Regions from separate parts of the Homo sapiens genome. Here region 2 is linked to region 1. The links are contacts of gene promoters, found by promoter capture Hi-C in blood cells and fetal thymus (Javierre and others, 2016). All regions are on one chromosome and are shown on one strand. The core of a region is centred on a gene start or on the middle of the fragment in contact, and the rest is flanking DNA. Distances in the headings are between cores, read along the strand shown. Region 1 overlaps WWP1 (WW domain containing E3 ubiquitin protein ligase 1). Region 2 holds the start of LRRCC1 (leucine rich repeat and coiled-coil centrosomal protein 1).

Region 1 (4,863 bases), core at 1,087-3,586:
ACTCTCTGTCCATATCATCACCACTGATCTCCCTAATCAAAGACATTTCCAACTAGTGCTACTGTTCTTCCCTGGCCCATGCCATCACCCATCATCCCCATGCCATCATACCCCAAGCCATCACAGCCTCTGCATCTATGCCAACAACTCACCCTTCCTGTATCTTGCTGATCTCCATTCCATTCACTAGCTCATATGGCCCCATCCTGAACTTGATGGGTCCTATTCTTCCCACAATCTCCCACTAGGAATCTCTACCACTGCACTCTTCCCTTAGAATTGGTCTGCTTAACTCAGGAACTACAGTCTCTCCAGCACTCTCCGGCATCCCTTCACTGTAGGGGACCTACTGGCAATGTCATTAATACTTTACATTTGCGAAGCACTTCATAGTTTCAAATTTTCACATACGTTATGTCAAGAAAACAGGCTAAGTACAATTGTTTCCAATTTTACCAGTGCCACGTTAATATCACTTTTCACTTCTATCTCCCATTGGGCTTTTCTTCCCAGGTTCTGTCTTTATTGTGCCTTTCTCTCTCCCTTCAAATAAACTTGGTGTTCTCAATGTATACATCTAACTATTTGGGAAAGAAGCTATGTGATTTCTTTTAAAGCTTTTTATATATAAATAGAGACAGGGTCTCACTATTTGCCCAGGCTAGTCTTTAACCTCTGGCCTCAAGTGATCCTCCCACCTGGGCCTCCCAAAGTGCTGGGATTACAGGCATCAACCACTGTGACCCGCCAAAAAATTAAAGCTTTCTTGTCCACACTTGACCTCTCCCTATATCACTGATTGATCCATTCATATTCAAAACACAAGAATGCCCCTCTCCTGATAACTTACAAGTGTGCTGCAGAGTAAAACAGAATAGCACTTCTGAGCTGTACCATTCCAGTGATTTGAAGAGTACTTGCAATATCTACCAGACAAATAACAAATAAACATGGAATCTACAGGTACCTTTTAGCCTCTGACTTTAATTTGGGTGTTTATTTTAAACACCCAATAAATGTGGAACCTAAAAGGTATTGAAGCCTAAAAATGCCTATCTAACCACAGAATCTAATAACTTCGACTATCTTCCCTCCATCTTTCTGTATTTTTAGTCAATTTCAAAGTTCCTTTCAGTGCACAATATATGGCCCTTTAGGAAGTATTTCTATGAGAAAAATGTATTTTTCTTCAAAAGGCCCAATTTCCTAAGTTAGTATGAATACCCAATTCTTACTATTCGTTATCACCCAATTTCAGATTTTCAACCAGAGGGAGTTAATACATTAATTTTTAATTAACGTTAATACATAGATTTTTTTCTGAGCCTTTTGGTTCTGTTTTCTCTTACTCTCTAATTTTTACATCTTCTTTTCCAGTAACATAAATCTAGTCCTTGTTTCTTGACTTTTCTTTTTCAGATATATCTCACATCTCCCCTATCATAAATGCACTCTCTTCCTATTTTTCAGCCACTTCATTTTCTTATAGAAAGTGAGTTTCTACTCAATTGTATTTTTAATTTTTAATTTTACTTTATTTTCTCTCTTTCTTTCTTTCTCTCTTTCTTCTTTCTCTCTCTCTCTCTCTCTCTCTCTTTCTTTCTTTCTTTCTTTCTTTCTTTCGAGGCAGGGTCTCACTTTTGTCGCCCAGGATAGAGTGCAGTGGCATAATCATGGCTCACTGTAGGGTCTAACTATTGGACTCCTGCTATCCTCCTGCCTGAGACTCTCAAGTAGTTGACACTACAGGCACGCACCACCATGCCTGGTTAATTTCTTTGTTTGTTTTTTGTAGAGATGGGGTCTATGTTACCCAGGCTGGTCCAGAACTCCTTAGCTCAAGTGAGCCTCCCACCCCAGACTCCCAAAGCACTGAAATATTTTTTATTTTTAAAGATTTATTCCTCTCAAACAATTACACAGAAAACTCTTCTGCTTTACAGTACATTACCTCAAAATTTACCTCTCATTAACATGTATAATGTAAGCAAAACATATTCTTACATTAAAATGCACCATACATATCACAGTTTTGAGTATGAAGCACCAAATCTTGATTTTTCTGTAGATTCCCTTTTTAATGCCAATTTTAACCATTTCTAAGCTATATGAAAGCCTTGTTCTCAAAATTATTCTATGACCCACCTACTCTAAACTATTAGTTACATAATGAATACAAATTTATTTCTCTCCCTCAAAGCAACCAACACATAAAATTCACTTTATTTACAGAAATTCAAGTCCAATAGCTAGTGAAGCTATTTAACTCAATTCTCTTTTCATTCTCATTAATTCTAATCAAGTACATTTTTGAGTACTTTAAATTCCATCTATGTCCTTGCCTTCTAAATAGCCCTGCATCACAGCAAGGCTTCAGTCACACCAGAAAATATGATCAGAGCAATTTAATGTGCTCTTCTTATCAGGGTTCTTGTCCCAATTAATGAGAAAAGTTACAATTACATACCCAAAGCAAAACTAACTAACCACCCTTTCAAGGAAAATGTGTTTCACGTACACTACTTTTGTCATTTTAGTGACAAAGCACTAAAAATACTTCCTGGCACAGAATAAATACCTAATAAATAAAATCAGCAAGACCACAGACAAATTTCTTTTTTTTTTTTTTTTTTTTGAGATGGAGTCTCACTCTGTCACCCAGGCTGAGTACAGTGGTGCGATCTCGGCTCACTGCAACCTCTGCCTCCCAGGTTCAAGTGATTCTCCTGCCTCAGCCTCCTGAGTAGCTGGGGCCACAGGTGCCCACACCCGGCTAATTTGTTTATTTTTCGTAGAGACGGGGTTTCACCATGTTGGCCAGGCTGGTCTTGAACTCCTGACCTCAAGTGATCGGCCCACCTCGGCCTCCCAAAGTGCTGGGATTACAGGAGTGAGCCACCATGCTCGGCCCATAGACATATAATTTAACCTCTTTCAGTAGCCTTTGTTAAAAAAAAACTTATGGGAAGCCATTGTTTTTGGACTAAGCTCCTGCACTAGGCCCCAAAAGACCAGACCAAGACAAAATGAAGCCACCCATGCTAAATGCCACATAATCAAACTAAAAGTTCAAGGAAGCAGACAGTTAAAGCAGACCAGCAGACCAGCTTTCCCTAAAAACAGGTAACAGTCTGACTGAGTCAACATAATAAGGAATTCCCCTCTGCTTTAATCCTTACAAAAAAGTAACCTGACATTAACCAGTCAGCTTTTTTTGTTGTTGTTTCCTCGTCCCCATCTCACAAAACCCAGTGTTCTGCCACTACCCAGCAGAAGTTCTCATTCCATATTGTAGAATGGAGACTGCCCCATTCATGGATCATGAATAAAAGCCAATTTGATCTGTAACTAAATTTGTGATAATTTTGTTTTTTGATACCTTCAAGGTAAGATTATATAAGCACTTTATGAATTATCGAGTACTATATAAATGCTAAATTATTAAGCATGAGAAAAATATTAAATAATATTAAATACGAGAAACAATTTTCAATAATGAAAGTTAAATAATGCATTTATAGAAAAATGCAGATAGTCCTGCTATATTTATCTGATTTGTATCTGTTAATTCTAAACACTGAGGTGCTTTTGAGATACTAATCCCAGCTTTTATTTTAAATAATTTCTGATGTAAATTTCTGTAAAAAGACACTACACTCGATCTTGTCTAGCATTGAGTCCTTGAAATTAAATATACCCTCCTACTTTCTGAAGTGGTATACCTACACACTGTCATCTTCTAGGATAATGCCTTCCCTCCCTTCTCCTCCCTCATTTAAACCCTCCTTTTTTGGTCATCAAACAGATTTGGGGCTCATGTACTACTTAAAATAAACAAGAGCAACAAGAAAAAGGGAGAAAAAAATTCCTTTGATGAACTCACTTCCTAAAATAATGATGTCTAAGCTTGTCACCGATTCTTCTACCCTTGCAATTTGGTTGCTGCCCTCACCACTCTACTGAAATATTTCTGTTCCCCTTCCAAGGCCAAACAGTGGCCACCTTACACCTACTTTCTCCTGGACCTGTCTGCACCATAAGACTACAATTCAATCACTCAATAAACACTGATGTGGCCTCCATTCTCTCCCTGAAAAATACTGACATAAGCCTCTAATTTAATCTTTCTAGTATATCAATTTACCATGTGAAAAAAAAAAAGGTGATCAATAATCAAAGAAACTAGGCATTAGGCATTTTAACAATTTTTTGAATGAAGTTTTCCAGTATATATATATATATATATATATATATATATATATATATGCCTTGTATATATATATGCCTAGTATATATATACATATGCCTAGTGTATATATATATGCCTAGTGTATATATATATGTGTGTATATATGTGTATATATATGTGTGTATATATGTGTGTATATATATGTGTGTGTATATATATGTGTATATATATATGTGTGTATATATATGTATATATATATATATATACACACACACACTAGGCATATTTTCAGGTAATATATTAAACACTAGAAATATAAAAGCCATATAAAATATGCTCTTTGCTCTCAGTGAGTTTAAAATTTAGTAGCAGAAACAGACACGTGACTCAATTTTAAGTTCATTGACAGAAAGGGGTGTGCAGACAGTAACTACAGAAGAACAAAAGCACCTTAATATTATTTGGAGGTAAGAGGTAAAGAGTTGTCAGGAAAGAATTCTGAGAAATGGTAACAGTTGAGATGAGTTGTGGAGGACTCCAATGCAGCAGCTGCACATACAAAAGGAAAGAAGTGGAAAGGAAAGACATGCTTTCAAGGCATTCTGTGCCCAGAGAGGTGAGATGACTAACATAAGCAGGTTAAAAAGTAGTTCTGTTAGGAAGGGTATGGGGAG
Region 2 (4,863 bases), core at 1,624-4,123, 1.3 Mb after region 1:
AAAAAAAAAGTAAAATAAAATAAAGCCTTTATAAAATTTAAATAATTAATTACAGAGATATAGCATTACAATGTTATTTCAGACTGTTCTGAAGTAAATCCAGTCTGGTAACAGCGAAATCAATTTTATTGGCATTTAGAAAAAACAGAATTTTTAAAAAATTGACACTTTTTTGGAGAAAATATTTTGTATAATGAGTTTCAGACTCAATTTTTAAGAGTTTCTGATATTTATTCCATTCTTTTGGGGAAAAAAATGGACCTAAATCATTTTCCTTACGCTAAGTGTTAAATGAAAATCACTTACAAACCTTCTACTTTTGTAATCAAATTGCAGGACAAATTTAATGTGCACAGTTTTGTCAGTGTGTTTAGTCCTTCAATTCTACTTATTTGATTAGATGACAGATCTAGATGTTGTAAATTCCAAATATGATCAATGGCTTCGATCTTGGAGATGTTATTGCAATGAAGATTGACGGCATGAAGAGTTGAATCTAAAGATAATTCTGATATGCTATAAAAGAAAATATATACTATAAAAATAGATTTTAAAAGCATGACCAAATAACTAAAATTAACCAAACAGCACGTAGATACTAAATATGTGCTCTATTCATTCTAGAATGAAATCTTTCCTATTTGTGGTACCTTTGAAATGTCTCACAAAACACGGTGCTTCTTACAACACAACCAAGTATTTTGGATTATTTATACAAACAAGAAACCGCTCAAGGCAGGCAAGTGACAGTGGGCATTTCTAACTCCTGTGTGCAGTCATCAGCATATATTGAAGGCAGTGCTGAATAGTAGTCAATAACTGTAAAGGCTTTGGAATGTTAATATCCCAGTTTGAATCTGCATTCTATCACGGTTTTGCTGTGTGATTTGAGCAAATGACAACCTGAGCCTCAGTTTTCTTACCTCAATTAATTCTCACAATAACTCTAAGCAGTGGGTATCTTAAGGATACCTAAATTTATGGAAATTAAATAGCTTGCCCAAATTCTTGCAGCTAACAGAGCATATGTAAATCCAGATCTCATGCTGGAGATTATAACTTTATTTTCTTCTTTGTGTGCAATAGCTATTTAATCCACAGTCTATTGCATTTTCAAAAACAAACCATGTTATTGCAATTCCTATTGAAAAAGTCCCTGTCCTCCCTTGTTGAAAGTTAATGGATCTCCCCTAAACAGAACTCATCTCTTCACTCCAATTACTATTTATAACTGAAGCTTCTCCTGAAGATAGTAGTTCCAGGAACACAAACTACAGCATACACAGTTTGGAGTTGCTAGATGGGAGATACACCCAGGAACACACAATGTCACGGGCATCTGCTGTAGGTTGAGTAGCAGCTATCTTACAGCTGTAGGAAACCTAACTCTGACAGCAGGGAAGCATTTGCAAATTTCAAACTAGCAACCTTTAAATGTGACTATCTGGGGCATTTCCCACTTATCCTGCTGTGTCATTTACTTGAGTTCTTATTTAGTGCCAGACCTTATGCTGTTAACACATGCTCTTAATGACAGTCATTTACTTTCTGACACATTTCAGTTTCTCGACATTAATAATGTGCAGATAATGTGAGATAGAAAAAGCATAGTGAAATTAGACGGAAAATGGGTTTGAATCCGAACTTAATTCTTCATGAAGTGTATAAAGATGAACAAATTGTCAATAGATTCTGAGTCTCATTCATCACTTGTAAATGAGAAAAATTACTACCTTGTAGAATTGCTGTGAGGATTACTGATAATGTATATAACATGCACACAACAGATAGCATTCAGTAAATGGCAGCTAGTATTAAATAGAAATGTAAAATGTCCCTTGAACAGCATCTTCTTGGGATCATCTGGCAAAGTTTAAATCAGAATCCAGAACAAGATGCTTAATTATCAGTAGCAGAGTTCGCGTAGAGGACACGCTACAAAGGAACAGCATGTGCAAAGGCACAGAGAAGTCTGCTATGGAATTGCCTGTAGCTCAGTACAGGTAAATAAAGTGTAAGTGGAGAAATGTTACGGGTCGAGACTAAAGAGCCTGAAATGCAGGTGGAGACCTGCTTTACAGTATTACAGAACCAAGTGCCTCATATGCTTTGCACAAGTCAGGGCTTCAAGAGAGAGGGAAACGATGAACTAAATATAGTAAGTTTAGTACTTTCAAAAAGTATATGAATATATGTATTGCAATGTTCTGTAACGGACAAATGATTTCGAATGCAGACAAGGAGAACTGAGGCAAAACTAACAGGCAGCAGCGACTGCCCGCTCATAGCTGCCAGAGATACTATCCTGCAGGTTTTTTTCAGAGGTAAGAACAGGAAAGACGAGAGAACACGAGAAAACCAGCAATTAAACGGCAAGCAAAGGAATAACCACCAGTAAGTAAGGAAAACCAGCAGAAGGAAAGAGTGGTCAGAAGCTGGTGGAGGACAAGGTCCTGGGGCAGTTTCTAGGCTAAGCAGAGTCGTGTGAAACGCTGGGCAGGAGACACGGGCGGGAAGGCATCCACGGCTCATTCAACCTGGCACTTCGGCAGGTAAGTTTTGGAGGAGCGGGGAGGCCGAAAGCCAGACTGCGTTCACTTATGGTCTTGGTAAAGCAGTGCCGCGCCTCCACTCTGGTGTCGCCGCCAGCCACTCGTGGCCCCGGCTCTGGGGAGTGCGCGGGTCGCTCCTGGCTGCGGAGCGCCCTTTACCTCTGCAAGCCTTTGTCCATGAAGCATACATCCCCGCAGCTGCTGTCGCCGTCTTCGTTTTCCACTTCCGCCTCTGCCGCCACCACCGCCGCCGCCGCCTCCATAGCACTGGCGACGGGGAGCGGGGTCTTAACCGGCACCCAGCGAGGGGTCCGTGAGCTTGGGACAAGCCTCCCGGAAGCGCGGAAGGGCGGCCCGAGGGGGCGGGGCGGGGCGAGGACCCACCCTCCAACCGACAGCCGGGAACTTTCCCGCCTTGACGGTGACGCAAAACTGGAATCCTCGTCCCAACTGTGGGCTTCTTTCGTTTTTACAGCATCTGCGGTGCGACTCTTGAACTTGCTGTAAAGTAAAACTGCTTCCCGGGCGTGTAGGAGCTGGAGAATGAATGGATTTGTCCTGTGTGCTTCTGTATATTTGCCTAGTAGCCGACTGACTTCTGAAGGCGGTTTTCACAGCGGTTTGGCTTTACGTGCCTTTACATAGCCTTACATACGTATAAATTGTTCCTCTGGCCATTGCACCTCCTGTTGATTCATTGAACAATTTGTGGGATGCCTTACTGTATGTCAGTCACTTCCCTGTATGAGGAAGAAAAAGATGAAGCCTATTCTTGTTCCTGGAAACATTCGCAGCCCCATAGAGGAAACAGAATTGCCATACAGTATGACGAATGCTAAGAATAACACAAGGGCATCGAAACCAACTCTAGAGTGATATGGGTAGTGGGTACGTTTTCTAAAAGAAGTGATTGATGACTGAATAGAGTCTTGCTGGGTTAGGGGGAGTTCTGGATGAATGGCATTACAGGTGGGAAAGCAATACCTGTGTGAGGTCAAATAACCCTCCTGGCTAGATTGCTTCCTAAGGCATAGTAATATTTTAAAACGGAGCAAATGGTGCAGTAGTCCATTTGAAGTGGACTATTTCCTTTTGAAATAACTCATATAGACAAAAATAAAAAAGATGTTTTAAAAAATGAGCAAAACCCACATGACATGTAGGACACCATAAAGTGACCAAATATTCAAAATTTTGGAGTCTCAGAAGGCAAAGAGAAAACAATAGAGTTGGAAAAATGGTTCAACAAAATACTATATGAAAACTTCCCAAGTCTAGCAAGAGATTTAGACACCCAGGCACAGGAGGCCAAAGGTTCCCAAACAGATACAATGCAAAAAGGTTTTCTTTTAAAAAAAATTTCATCTCACTTTTTATTTTAGATTCGGGGGTACATGTGCAGGTTTGTTACATAAGTATATTGCACGATGCTGAGGTTGTGGCTTCTAATGATCCTGTAACCCAAATAGTAAATATAGCGCTTGATAGGTAGTTATTCAACTCTTGCCTTCCCCCTTTTGGAGTCCCCAGTGTCTATTGTTCCCATCTTTGTGTTCATGTGTATCCAGTGTTTAGCTGCCACTTGGAAGTGAGAACATATGGTATTTGGTTTTCTGTTTCTGTGTTAATTCACTTAGGATAATGACCTTCAGCTGCATCCATATTGCTGCAAAGGACATGATTTTGTTCTTTTTTATGGCTGCATGTTGGTGTATATGTGCCACATTTTCTTTATCCAGTCTATCATTGATGGGCATCAGGGCTCATTCCATGCCTTTGCTACTGTGCTGCAATAAACATATGAATGCGGGTGTCTTTTTGGTAAAACAATTTATTTTTCTTTGGCTAGATACCTGGTCATGGGATTCCTGGATTGAACGGTAATTCTATTTTTAGTTCTTTGTGAAATCTCCAAACTGCTTTCCACAGTGGCTGCAATTTGCATTCCCACTGATGGTGTGTAAGCATTACTTTTTCTCTGCAACCTCACTAACATCTCATATTTTCTGACTTTTTAATAAAACCCACTCTGACTGCTGTGAGATGATATCTTATTATAGTTTTGATTTACATCTCTCTGATTATTAGTGATGTTGAGCATTTAAAAATATGTTTCTTGGCTGCTTGCATGTCTTCTTTCGCAAAAAAGAAAAGAAAAGAAAAAGTCTCCTTTATGGCCCATTGTAGTCAAACTGATAAAAGTCAAAGACAAAGAATTCTAAAAACAGCAAGAGAAAAACATCTAGTCATTTATAAGGGAACCCTCAACAAACTAACAGTGGATTTCTCACCAAAAACTTTACAAGCCGGC

Evidence for each region. Contacts are between HindIII fragments. The CHiCAGO score rates a contact against its expected background, and 5 or more counts as called.
Region 2: the fragment with the promoter of LRRCC1 here is called in contact with a fragment that was not itself captured in region 1 in 1 of 17 cell types (activated CD4 T cells); the score reaches 6.1 in activated CD4 T cells.

The regions. Positions count from the first base shown.
Region 1 is chr8:86,361,567-86,366,429 of GRCh38, reverse strand. The region is part of intron 1 of WWP1 (WW domain containing E3 ubiquitin protein ligase 1); the gene reads right to left. Among named protein-coding and RNA genes, the nearest start is that of WWP1-AS1, 20 kb to the right of the region's middle. The HindIII fragment of the contact is 3,145 bases long and covers 764-3,908 here.
Region 2 is chr8:85,105,248-85,110,110 of GRCh38, reverse strand. It overlaps LRRCC1 (leucine rich repeat and coiled-coil centrosomal protein 1), which reads right to left and starts at 2,873. Exons shown (of 19, transcript NM_033402.5): 1 at 2,712-2,873; 2 at 311-516. The coding sequence starts at 2,815. It overlaps LOC105375933 (a long non-coding RNA gene), which reads left to right and starts at 2,249. Exons shown (of 3, transcript XR_929117.3): 1 at 2,249-2,552. RefSeq lists an enhancer at 2,702-2,761. The HindIII fragment of the contact is 5,185 bases long and covers 1,240-4,863 here.